Linked DNA regions of Homo sapiens: region 1 is linked to region 2. The links are contacts of gene promoters, found by promoter capture Hi-C in blood cells and fetal thymus (Javierre and others, 2016). All regions are on one chromosome and are shown on one strand. The core of a region is centred on a gene start or on the middle of the fragment in contact, and the rest is flanking DNA. Distances in the headings are between cores, read along the strand shown. Region 1 holds the start of PRTN3 (proteinase 3). Region 2 holds the start of TMEM259 (transmembrane protein 259).

Region 1 (5,630 bases), core at 313-2,812, 180 kb before region 2:
AAGCGTGAAATCCTTTCCAAATGAAACGTTAAAAAGCTTTTTTTCTTTTTGGCCTCCAAGTTCATTCAGTGCTTCTCTCCATTTCACTGTAGGTTTAAACCGTTCAGTTATAAATAAATAATTTTATCCTCTGTCCTCGGCTTTCCCCCGTTTCCGGCACTGCAGACATGGGGGCTGGATTTGTCTCTGCGGCGGGGCCATCCTGGGCACTGCAGGGCCCTGCCAGGAGCTCCCTCCAAGTCGTGACAACCACGGATGTCTCCAGGCCTCACACAGGGACCCCTGGGGGCAGAATCACCCCAGGGTTAGAGGATTCCACAGACCCCAAGAGACTCTGAGTCCCATGATCCTCTGCCCTGCTGAGGTCCCAGGAGGCTGCACACATTGAAATCCACACCCTGAGTGGGAGGGAGAGAGGAGGCGAGTCCCGGGAGCTGGGGTCCCCCGGGTTTATGCCGTACGCCCCATCGGGAGTTTATTCTGGTGTCCGGTGTGAGCAGGGGGCAGACTGGATTTTTTATTTTTTATTTTTATTTATTTATGTTTTGAGATGGAGTCTTGCTCTGTTGCCCAGGCTGGAGTGCAGTGGCACGATCTTGGCTCCCTGCAACCTTCGCCTCCCAGGCTCAAGTGATTCTCCTGCCTCAGCCTCCTGAGTAGCTGGGACTACAGGCGCCCGCCAACACGCGCAGCTAATTTTTGTATTTTTAGTAGAGATGGGGTTTCACTATGTTGGCCAGGCTGGTCTTGAACTCCTGACCTCAGGCGATCCACCCGCCTCGGCCTCCCAAAGTGCTGGGATTACAGGTGTGAGGCACCGCACCTGGCCATTTTTTTCCCCAAATAATGAACACTGGTCTCTCCCCTGGGCCCTGTGGACATCGGGGCTGGATCCTTCTCTGGGGCAGGCCCGTCCTGGGCACTGCAGGGTGCTAGGCATCATCCTTGGCCTCCACCCACTCCATGCCAGGAGCTCCCCTTTCGTGACAGCCACAGGTGTCCTCAGACCTCGCCCAGGGTCCCCTGGGGGCAGAATCACCTCTTGATTGAGAATCCTGGCCTTAAAGGGGGAAGAAAACCCCCAGACAAAACTGGCAGGAGGATGTTCGCTGGGGCCTCAGGTGAGGCACTGAGGGCACTCGTGGTGGGGCCCTGCCTTCCCGAGCTCTGCATCCTGTCCCCTGCTACGTCCTGCTGTCTGTCCGTTTCCAGCTCACCCACCCACGGGACACACCTGCCACGGCCGGCTTTGCTGGGGCCACAGGGACCTCGTCAGGGAGGCGTCTCCTTGTGGGTGGCACGTGGGCATGTGTTGCTCTGAGGGCTGTGGCCATGTTGCCCACCTGGCCAGGGACCCCCGACTTGGGTGGGTGACAGCCAGCCTCCCCGCCCCCACAAAGGTTGGGACCTTGAGCCCAAAGCCCCCACCTCCTCCCCGGAGTCCGTTCTGACTCCCAGGCTCCCAAGGCAAAAGGAGGAAGTGGGGACCCAGCCTGGGCATTGGGCAACTCAACGGCCTCTGGCATTGGGCTATAAGAGGAGCTTGACCGTGGGTGCACCCTGGACCCCACCATGGCTCACCGGCCCCCCAGCCCTGCCCTGGCGTCCGTGCTGCTGGCCTTGCTGCTGAGCGGTGAGTGAGCCACGTGCCCATCCATCCAGCCTCCAGGCCCCGGTGGATTGTGGGGAAATATCCACCACGAGGTCCATCCAAAGCCCTTCTGGCACAGCTGGGGAAACTGAGGCAGGGTCAGGGGAGACTCCACTCACTGCTCGGGACCAACGCTTGCAGGGGTGGGGAGGACAAGGGCAAGGGGGAGCCCTGGCCATTTGACTCAGTTGCCTATCTGTAAAACGGGCAAAACCCAGCCCTTCCCTCCTGAGGAGCTGTTTTGGGAATTAGCTAGTAACAGGCGAATTCCTGGACAGCACCCAGCCTTCAGCAAATGCTCAGTGAATATGCATGAATGAATGAATGAGTGAATGAATGAGTGAGTGAGTGAATGAGTGAACAAATGAATGAGTGAATGAATCAATGAGTGAGTGAATGAATGAGTGAATGAGTGAATGAGTGAACGAATGAATGAGTGAATGAATCAATGAGTGAGTGAATGAATGAGTGAATGAGTGAATGAATGAGTGAATGAGTGAATGAGTGAACGAATGAATGAGTGAATGAATGAATGAGTGAGTGAGTGAAAGGGTCGAGGAGTTAGTGATGCTGGAATCAGGGGAAGAAGAGAGCATGGGCCCCCTCAGGTCCCTATCCTGAGGGTGATTTTCTTTTTCTTTTTCTTTTTTTTTTTTTTGAGACGGAGTCTCGCCCTGTCGCCCAGGCTGGAGTGCAGTGGCGCGATCTCGGCTCACTGCAAGCTCAGCCTCCCGGGTTCACGCCTTTCTCCTGCCTCAGCCTCCCGAGTAGCTGGGACTACAGGCGCCCACCACCATGCCTGGATAATTTTTTGTAATTTTTGTAGAGACGGGGTTTCAAGGTGTTAGCCAGGATGGTCTCGATCTCCTGACTTCGTGATCCGCCTGCCTCAGCCTCCCAAAGTGCTGGGATTACAGGCGTGAGCCACCGCGCCTGGCCCTTTTTTTTTCTTTTTTGAAACGGAATCTTGCTCTGTCGCCCAGGCTGGAGTGCAGTGGTGCAATCTCAGTTTACTGCAGCCTCAGCCTCCTGGGGTCAAATGATTCTCCTGCCTCCGCCTCTTGAGTAGCTGGGATTACAAGCACACACCACCACACCTGGCTAGTTTTTGTATTTTTAGTAGAGATGGGGTTTCACCACGTTGGTCAGGCTGGTCTCGAACTCCTGACCTGAGGGGGATTTTCAATGCCTCAGTTTGTTCATCTGCAAAATGGGTCTCTTTGTTGGCTGATTTTTTTTTTTTTTTTTGCTTCTTTTTTTTTATTTTGTTTTGTTTTGTTTTTTTGAGATGGGGTCTCACTCAGGCATGAGCCACTGCGCCCAGGATTTTTTTTTTTTTTTTTTTTTTTTGAGACAGAATCTCACTCTGTTGCCCAGGCTGGAGTGCAGTGGTGTGATCTCGGCTCACTGCAACCTGTGCCTCCTGGGTTCAAGCGATTCTCCTGCCTCAGCCTCCCAGGCAGCTGAGATTACAGGTGCGAACCACCACACCTGGCTAATTTTTTTTTTTTTTTTTTTTGAGACGGAGTGTCATTCTGTTGCCAGGCTGGAGTGCAGTGGGGCGATCTTGGCTCACCACAACCTCCGCTTCCTGGGTTCAAGCGATTCTCCTGCGTCAACCTCCGGAGTAGCTGGGACTACAGGCACGTGCCACCACGCCCAGCTAATGTTTGTATTTTTAGTAGAGACAGGGTTTCACCATGTTGGCCAGGATGGTCTCCATCTCTTGACCTCAGGTGATCCACCCACCTCGGCCTCCCAAAGTATTGGGATTACAGGCGTGGGCCAACCGCACCCGACCAATTTTTCTGCTTCTTTAAAAACATTTTTTTAAATTTTGTTTTAGAGACAGGGTCTTGCTCTGTTGCCCAGGCTGGAGTGCAGTGGTGTGATCTCAGTTCACTGCAGCCTTGACCTCCTGGGCTCAAGCGATCCTCCCTCCTCAGCCTCCCAAGTAGCTGGGACGACAGGTGCACACCACCATGCCTGGCTAATTTTAAAATTTTTTGTAGAGATGGGGTCCTCACAATTTTGCCCAGGCTGGTCTTGAACTCCTGAGCTCAAGGGAGCCTCCTGCCTCGGCCTCCCAAAGTGTTGGGATTACAGGCGTGAGCCACTGCACCCAGCCACCTGGTCTGCGTCTTAAAAGCCTTCCTGACTCTCAGGACTGAAAGCTGCCACCAGGGCGCCTTTGGAAATCGTCGTAATTATAACCCCCCCGGCCTGGGCGCTGAGTCCTTCCCACCAGCCAGCAGGCACTGACCGGGTTGCAGATCGGGAGACGGAGGCTCGGAGAGGCCCAGGGGCTGCTCTGCCATCCCCCCTTTCCCTGCAGCCTGGGGGCTCCCTGACGCCTGGACTCCCCCCCTGCAGGTGCTGCCCGAGCTGCGGAGATCGTGGGCGGGCACGAGGCGCAGCCACACTCCCGGCCCTACATGGCCTCCCTGCAGATGCGGGGGAACCCGGGCAGCCACTTCTGCGGAGGCACCTTGATCCACCCCAGCTTCGTGCTGACGGCCGCGCACTGCCTGCGGGACATGTGAGCGGCCGCCTCCACACCCCTGTCCGCCCGCCCCGCCCTCTTCCTCCAGCCCTGGCCCGGCCACTGTCCCTCTGCCCGGGGAGGACCCAGCTAAGCCCCGTCTGCAGACCCCAGGCCCCGCGCGCGTGGGCAGTTCTGGGGGGAGGCCCGGGGCAGGGTCGCCGAGGGAGGGGTCTGGGGCTGCACCGCGGCCTCGGGAAGGGCCGGCTGTGGGCGGCGGCGAGTGTCCAGGGCGCCGAGGAGTGACCACCCCACCCCCGCAGACCCCAGCGCCTGGTGAACGTGGTGCTCGGAGCCCACAACGTGCGGACGCAGGAGCCCACCCAGCAGCACTTCTCGGTGGCTCAGGTGTTTCTGAACAACTACGACGCGGAGAACAAACTGAACGACGTTCTCCTCATCCAGGTGGGCGGGCAGGGCCGCGAGGGCTCGGAGGGGCACGGCCAGAGGGCTCCGGGACCCCCATTCCTGCAGCCAGCATTCATTGAGCACCCACTGTATACCGGGCCACGACCGAGGCCGCTGCAGCCTGGGTCCAGTGGCACTGGCCGGGGGAGACCGCTCCTTGGACACCAGGCCACTCCTCCTCCCCGCCTCTCCCCCGCCCGCGCCTCTCCCCCGCCCGCGCCTCTCCCCTGCGCGCCTCTCCCCCGCCCGCGCCTCTCCCCCGCCCGCGCCTCTCCCCCGCCCGCGCCTCTCCCTTGCCCGCCCCTCTCCCCTGCCCGCGCCTCTCCCCTGCATGCCTCTCCCTTGCCCGCCCCTCTCCCCTGCCCGCGCCTCTCCCCTGCGCGCCTCTCCCCTGCCCGCGCCTCTCCCCCGGCCGCTCCTCTCCCCCGCCCGCGCCTCTCCCCCGCCCGCGCCTCTCCCCTGCGCGCCTCTCCCCTGCCTGCCCCTCTCCCCTGCCTGCGCCTCCGCCCGGTGTGCTGTTCCCCCAGAAAGCCAGGTGCCCTCGCCTCCTCCGGCGCCTCCCCTGACCTCACTGGAAGTGGCGAGGACAGCCACAGCCCTCCCCGATTCACTGTTCTCCACTGAACCGCGTGCTCCTCTCATTCATGGGGCCCTCCTAGCCTCCTCCCACCCAGAAAGATCAGCTCCCCAGGGCAGAGGATTTTTGTCTGTGTTGTTCGTTATTGGACTCATGTGGCTTAGAACGGGACTGGGCATACAGGTGGTGCTCAGTAAGTGCTTGGGGCTGGGCACTGTGGCTCACGCCTGTACTCCCAGTACTTTGGGAGGCTGGGATGGGAGGATCACTTGAGGCCAGGAGTTTGGGAGCAGCCTGACCAACCTAGTGAGACCCCATCTCTATAAAAGACATTTTTTTTTTTTTTTTTTTTAGACAGAGTCTCACTCAGTCATCCAGGCTGGAGTGCAGTGGTGCAATCTCGGCTCACTGCCACCTCTGCCTTCCAGGTTCAAGTAATTCTCCTGCCTCAG
Region 2 (6,303 bases), core at 3,804-6,303:
TACAGCCAAAAGAGCCGCAGGGGATGAAGGCTGGCCCGGCGCTGAGATTTAAGCAGAAACAGGCAAGAGCAGAACCCTGACCGCCAGGCATTCAGGCCCCGCCCACAGACGCCGGAGCTACAAATGAGGGGTGGGCGGGGGGAGGGGGCAGGGCCCTCTGCTGGGGAGGGTTCCCCTGTGTCCTGGGGAAGACAGGGAGGGCAGTGTGGAAGGGGGGCAGCCCCGGAGCCTGAGATGCTTTCAAAGCCTAGCGTTTCCCCATATGGCATCTGGGGACAGGAGCCACGGAGGCTGGGCCCAGTGGTGGGTCACGGTCAGAGACACTGACCCCACAGCCCCTCGGCTCAGCACTCTCAGGAGAGAGGGGCCCGCGAGGCCCATGGTGGATGCTGCTGGTGGCCACGCTCTGCCTTCCAGGCCCACACATCCAGCAGGAGCTGTGCCCAGGACAGCAATGGACCCTGTGCCAAGATGTTCCAAAAAGTGCTGATACACAGTGGGCCGAGGTCGGGGCTGTCCAACGCTTCACAAGGGACGCACGGCTGTTACCATCCCTGGTTTATATACGAGGAACTGACACAGAGGTCCCGACAGACCTGGACCTGCTGAGGTCACATGGCCAGGAGGGAGGGGCCAGGGCAGTGCCAGTCTGCACAATTAAGGCCCCACGGGGAAGAGCAGCTCCTGGGGTTGCCCTGGGCAGGGTCAGCTTGGTCCAGGGTCAGCGGGAGAGGGCACAGGACACACATCCTGCCACACCCAGCACTGGTGTGAGTGACCCGTCCCATGAAGACAGCGGACGTGATGAGAGGGCACCAGTGTTTTCACACAATGTGCACACACTCCAGTCAAAGACTTCAAGTCCACCAGACGCTATGACTCAGACGTCACTGTGTCTCTGCCCCATCAGGTGCTCCGTGCTGACCGAGCTCAGGGCCCCTCTTCCCTGACTGAGCATGACCAGAAAAATGCCCCACTGGACAAGGCCCGTTGCCGCCAAAGCCTCAGCTCCCCTTCAGTCTCCCACCACAAAACAAGGAGCAGGCACCACCCAGCCAGACGCAGGCTCATCCCGAGTCCCGGGTCCTCCTCCCCAAGACCTGTCTGTCATCAGCCACCCTGCAGCAGCCACCTCACCAGGCCCGGCCCTGAGCCACACGCCCAGGCAGCCTCGTCCACGCCCACAGTAACCCTCCCCAGGGAGCTCACCTGCAAATGCTCCCATGGGCCCCTGGCCACCCTCTGCCCGCAACCTGGCTCAGCCACTCGCATGCCCTGGGTGGTCCAGTCCCCTACACTCCATGACCCTGTCCCTGACCCAGGCTCCCCAGCAGGCACCCACATGCTCCAGCCCCACGGCCTTCCCACACGCTCTCCAGCTGCCTGGACACCCCACCCCATCCCACTGGCTGTGGCTCACCTCCAGGAGGCCCTGCCCACCCAGCACAGGAGTCACCCCACCCCTATGACCCTTCCTTCCTCCGGGTCAGCCCACACACGGCTGCACCCACAGGAGCACCTCCCCCAGCCTGGGGCCGTGCTCACCGCCTCCTCCAGGAAGCTTCCTGGATGTTCTGGCCGAGGCTCTCAGGGCACCCCAACACTCGGCCACTGGGTGGGCCTTTCCTTTCCTGTCTCCCCACAGACCTGGAGTGCCAGGAGCAGCCTGCCCGCTCTCTGGGTATTTGACTGACCCACAGACCGACGGACACACAAGCCCGCGGAGCCACACTCTCCTCCCAGGTGGGACACAGAGCCCTCAGCCCCAGCCAGGAAACACTACCTGGGGCTCCCCTTTGTCCACCCGGGGTGCTTCCTGCCTCCAGGCCACCGGGGCCTCTCCTTCCACTGCAGCCTCACAGTGGCCTCAATGTGACAGGTCCCCCATTCAGAGCAGGGCCCCTGGGGTCTCACATACCCCGTCTTTAATCGTCACGACCCCACAAGAGGAGCCCCATTACTCCCTGTGGCTAGGCGCGGGCCCCTGCCCATGTCCAGGGGTGCTGAGTCGAGACCCCTTCACCCTGTGGGCATCCACTTGGTGGTCACCTGGGTCCAGAGCCCAACCGCACAGGTGCAGGCACCCAGTGCCCCAAGATGGACAGTCTCTGCCACACTGGGCTCAGGGCCATGAAGGCCAGCAGAGGTGGATACTGAGGCTGGATGGAGGTCTCCCGAGGGCCCCTGGAACACAGGCCCCTGCCGCCTCCTCTCTCCCCAGCACCTGGCACTGCCTGGCATTTCCTAAAGCCACCCAGGCATGGATGAGGGACCGGGGGGCTCCATGCTGGCTCAGAGCTGGGAGATCCTGGCATTTCCTAAAGCCACCCAGGCATGGGTGAGAGCTGGGGGACTCCATGCCAGCTCAGGGCTGGGAGCTCAGCTGCACAGATGCCACAGGATGAAGCCACCTTGAAGGGATCATACCAGGGAGGACCTGGCTCTCTGCAGGGAGACCCCCGGAAGCCAGGCAGGCAGGAAGCAGAGGAGCCTTCTGGAACTCAAGGCAGCCTCTGAAATCAGGCAGTTCCAGCCTGCACTTTGCAGATAAGTAAAAGTGAAGGCAGCAGGGTCAGATTCTGTGCCACCAGATTACCGGGTGGAAAATTCACAAAGAACAGATTTCCCCACCCAGGCCAGGCATGGTGGCTCACGCCTGTAATCCCAGCCTTTTGGGAGGCCGAGGCGGGCAGATCACCTGAAATCAGCAGTTTGAGACCAGCCTAGCCAACATGGCAAAACCCAGTCTCTACTAAAAAGACAAAAAAATTAGCCGGTTGTGATGGTGGGCACCGGTAATCCTAGCTACTCCGCAGGCTGAGGCAGAAGAATTGCTTGAACCCAGGAGGTGGAGTTTGCAGTGAGCCGAGATCAAACCACTGCACTCCAGCCTGGGTGACAGAGCAAGACTCCATCTCAAAAAAAAAAAAAAAAAAATTCACCACCCAGAGATCTCACAGTCCAAAGCCCTCTGCTGAGAGAGGAGGGATTGGGGTTACTGAGAACCTCCCAAGAGTCTCCACCCTACACAGAAGACGGGGAACTCCAGCTCTGGCCCAGCCCCATCTGACCACCTGTGAGTGGTATTGGCCTGGAGATGGAGCCGGGTAGGCTTGATCCCTTTCCAAACCGGGACATGGTGGGACCAGGGCCCAGGCGACAGGGATGCACCTCCCAAGGAGGCTGAGCTCCGTCGGGGGAACCTGGCCTGGCACCCAGCACACACCCTCCACAAGCCTAAGGACACAGTGGCTCCATCCTGTTCCCAGGCTACTCCATGGAAGGAAAACCCACGTCCACAGACCAGCCTCCGTCCACAGTTTCAGGCCCCGTCTGTGGACCCCAGAGCCGGGAAAGGCCGCCTGCCTGCGTAACCCTTCACAGCCCTGCTCAGGTGCCTACTGAGGCGACCATGCCACTCTGGGGGGCTGCAGGGAGGAAGGTGGGAAGGATGATGGGCTGAGCTCTGGCCTGGGGAGGCACGGATCTGGAGGCTGGGGGGCCTTCCGTGAAGTGGCAGCAGGCTGGGACCCACACCCAGGTCCGCAGGACGGCCAAGGTCCAGCTCCACTTGCCGAGCCCAAAAAAGCAGCCAGCTCCTGACCAACCTGTGTCAGGCTGGGAACTTGCCCACGATCGCAGCCTGGCCCGCCAGCATCGGACCCCTCTTTGCAGGCTAGATCCAAAAAGCTCACGGCGCAACTTCAGCAGCCCCCAAGCCCCGGCGCGGCGGTGTTCTGATGCAGAACGAAAACGGCCACGTCCCCATTTCGCCAGGTGGCCCAGGACCCCGGCCAGCTTGTTTTCTGAGGGGCTGCAGCTGCTACTGAGCCCCTCTTGTCACCCAAGCAAGACTCCTTCTCAGAGGGAGTCAGGCCGATGCCTGTCCTGCACGGCTGAGACCTCTGCCATCTGAGGAGGGCGGGAGGGGGACAGAGCCCAAGACGCGGAGGCCGGTGCCTCATAGGGGAGGCACGGGCGACAGACCCACAACCTGAGCTCCTGAAGCAGGAAGGGAGTGGGGACCCAGCGGAGGAAGAGGCCGGGGATGGGGTGGTACGCTGCTGCCGGTGACTTTGCCGCTAACCCTAGCGAGGTGACCTCAGCTAAGTCACATTCCCCTGAGGCTCAGGAGCGGGGAACGCAGCTGAAAGGCTACAAGGAGGGAGAGAGGGGAGTGGGGAGTCGACTTCCAGGACAGGGGTTGGTCCGAGGGAGACCTGCGTCAGGCTGGGTTCTGGGCCAGCACATTGGGAGGGGAGAGAGGCCTCGGAACTGAGGGTCTCAGGCGGCACAGTCAGGGGTCAAAGGGCGGGAGGTGCTACCTCGCAGGCCAGGACCGGACTCCAAGCCTGGGTAGGTGGGGACCTGGGAAAGGCGGTCGCCGGGGACAGGATGGGCCCTGGAGGGAGCTGACAGTGAGGTTTCCAGAGTAGAGAACAGCGGCTTCTAGTGCAGCGGGATCCGGCCTTCCCGGGTGGACGTCCCCGGGCGGGATGGGGTCACGAGACGGTGTCCCTGGCCAATCCCAGGGTCAGAGGTCGCGAGGGAGAGCCCTAATCGGTAGGGCCGGGTATAGGCCTCAGGGTGCAGGGTGGCGCTCGCTGTCCCCAGCGGGGCCAGGGGTCGCGGTCGGAGGTAGCAGACTTGGGGGTCGGGACAGCCGCTGGGGTCAAGGGTCGGGGGTCGGGGCCGCGGTCACCTTGAGCAGCACGAAGAACTCGAAGAGACGGCGGAAGGCGGGCGGGAAGAGCCGCGAATAGGTGACAGCCATCTTGAAGAACAGCGCGTGGAAGAGCCGGTCGCGCACGTTGATGAGGGGGTTGGGGTTGAGATTGGGGGTGCGAGGCCCGCGCGCGGGGGCCGGGCCGCCGCCGCCGCCGTTGGGCCCGGGCCCCGGAGCTGCGGGCTCCACGTGCTCCGACATGCCTCCCAGCGTCGCGCCCTAACGACCCGCAAGTGTCCGAGGGCGCCTCCCGGCCGCCATCGGCCGCCCTCGCAGCCGCCGCTCTCCTCACGGCCTCCCGGCCGCCGCCGCCATCTTCCGCTTTCTCGTCCGGCTGCGGCGCTGCTGACGCTAGCGAGTCGCCACGCCGGGCAAGAGCGGCCCCCCTGCGCCCGCAGAGAACGCTGGGATGCCAGCGGCGCCCGCGGAGGCCTCACCCCCTACCTCGGCCGCTCCAGGGGGCGGGCCTGCATCTGGGCCACCTCTTTTGCATATTGGCACCCACAATCCACCGCGGCTATGAGGCCAGTATAAGGCGGTAAAATTACGATAAGATATGGGATTTTACGTGATCGAAGACATCAAAGTAAGCGTAAGCACGAAAGTTGTTCTGCAACATACCACTGTAGGAAATTATGCTAAATATGAAACCGACCATAAGTTATCCTAACCAAAAGATGATTTGATTGAAGGGCTTAAAATAGGTGTGACAGTAACCCTTGAGTCGTGCTCGCTTCGGCAGCACATATACTAAAATTGGAACGATACAGAGAAGATTAGCATGGCCCCTGCGCAAGGATGACACGCAAATTCGTGAAGCGTTCCATATTTTTGCTGTAGTCTACAGCTCGTCACCTCGTTTGGCTTCTCTTGCCCGGATCCTGCCATGACGTCACAGGGCCAGTAACGTCATAGTCTTCCCGTGTCCATCTCCTGTGGCGCCACTAAGGTTGGCGGTAGAACAATCTGGCAGTCTCTACTCCTGCGTGGCGCTGTGCCACCTGCCCCCGTAGCTTCGCGCAGCAATGAATAAATAAGTGCTCTTCAGGGGCACTTACTGAGTGCCGGCTGCGTACACAAGAGGATACTATGGTTTTTGGGTTTTTTGGTTGTTTGTTTGAGATGGATTCTCGCTCTGTCGCCCAGGCTGGAGCGCAGAAGCGCGATCTCGGCTCTCTGCAACCCCCGCCTCCCGGGTTCAAGCCATTCTCCTGCCTCAGCCTCCCAAGTAGCTGGGATTACAGGCATGCGCCACCACTCCAGGCTAATTTTATATTTTTAGTAGAGACGGTTTCTCCATGTTGGTCAGGCTGGTCTCGAACTCCTAACTTTAGGTGATTTGCCCGCCTAGGCCTCCCAAAGTGCTGGGATTACAGGTGTGACCCACCAAGCCCGCCAAAAAAAAGTTTTGTGTTGTTTTTTTTTTTTGAGACGCAGTCTCACTCTGTCGCCCAGGCTGGAGTGCAGTGGCGTGATCTCGGCTCACTGCAACCTCCGCCTCTTGGGTTCAAGCAATTCTCTGCCTCAGCCTCCTGAATAGCTGGGATTGCAGGCTTCCGCCACCACACCCGGCTATT

What was found. Contacts are between HindIII fragments. The CHiCAGO score rates a contact against its expected background, and 5 or more counts as called.
Region 1: the fragment with the promoter of PRTN3 here is called in contact with the fragment with the promoter of TMEM259 in region 2 in 5 of 17 cell types (monocytes, total B cells, M0 macrophages and 2 more); the score reaches 8.1 in monocytes.

The regions. Positions count from the first base shown.
Region 1 is chr19:839,437-845,066 of GRCh38, forward strand. It overlaps PRTN3 (proteinase 3), which reads left to right and starts at 1,563. Exons shown (of 5, transcript NM_002777.4): 1 at 1,563-1,633; 2 at 4,025-4,190; 3 at 4,457-4,598. The coding sequence starts at 1,573. The HindIII fragment of the contact is 23,301 bases long and covers 35-5,630 here.
Region 2 is chr19:1,016,070-1,022,372 of GRCh38, forward strand. TMEM259 (transmembrane protein 259) reads right to left here and starts at 5,054. Exons shown (of 11, transcript NM_001033026.2): 1 at 4,703-5,054. The coding sequence starts at 4,927. RNU6-2 (RNA, U6 small nuclear 2) reads left to right here and starts at 5,453; the gene lies at 5,453-5,559. RefSeq lists silencers at 2,338-2,557, 4,816-4,875, 4,906-4,975, 5,136-5,245 and an enhancer at 2,941-3,540. The HindIII fragment of the contact is 5,187 bases long and covers 1,560-6,303 here.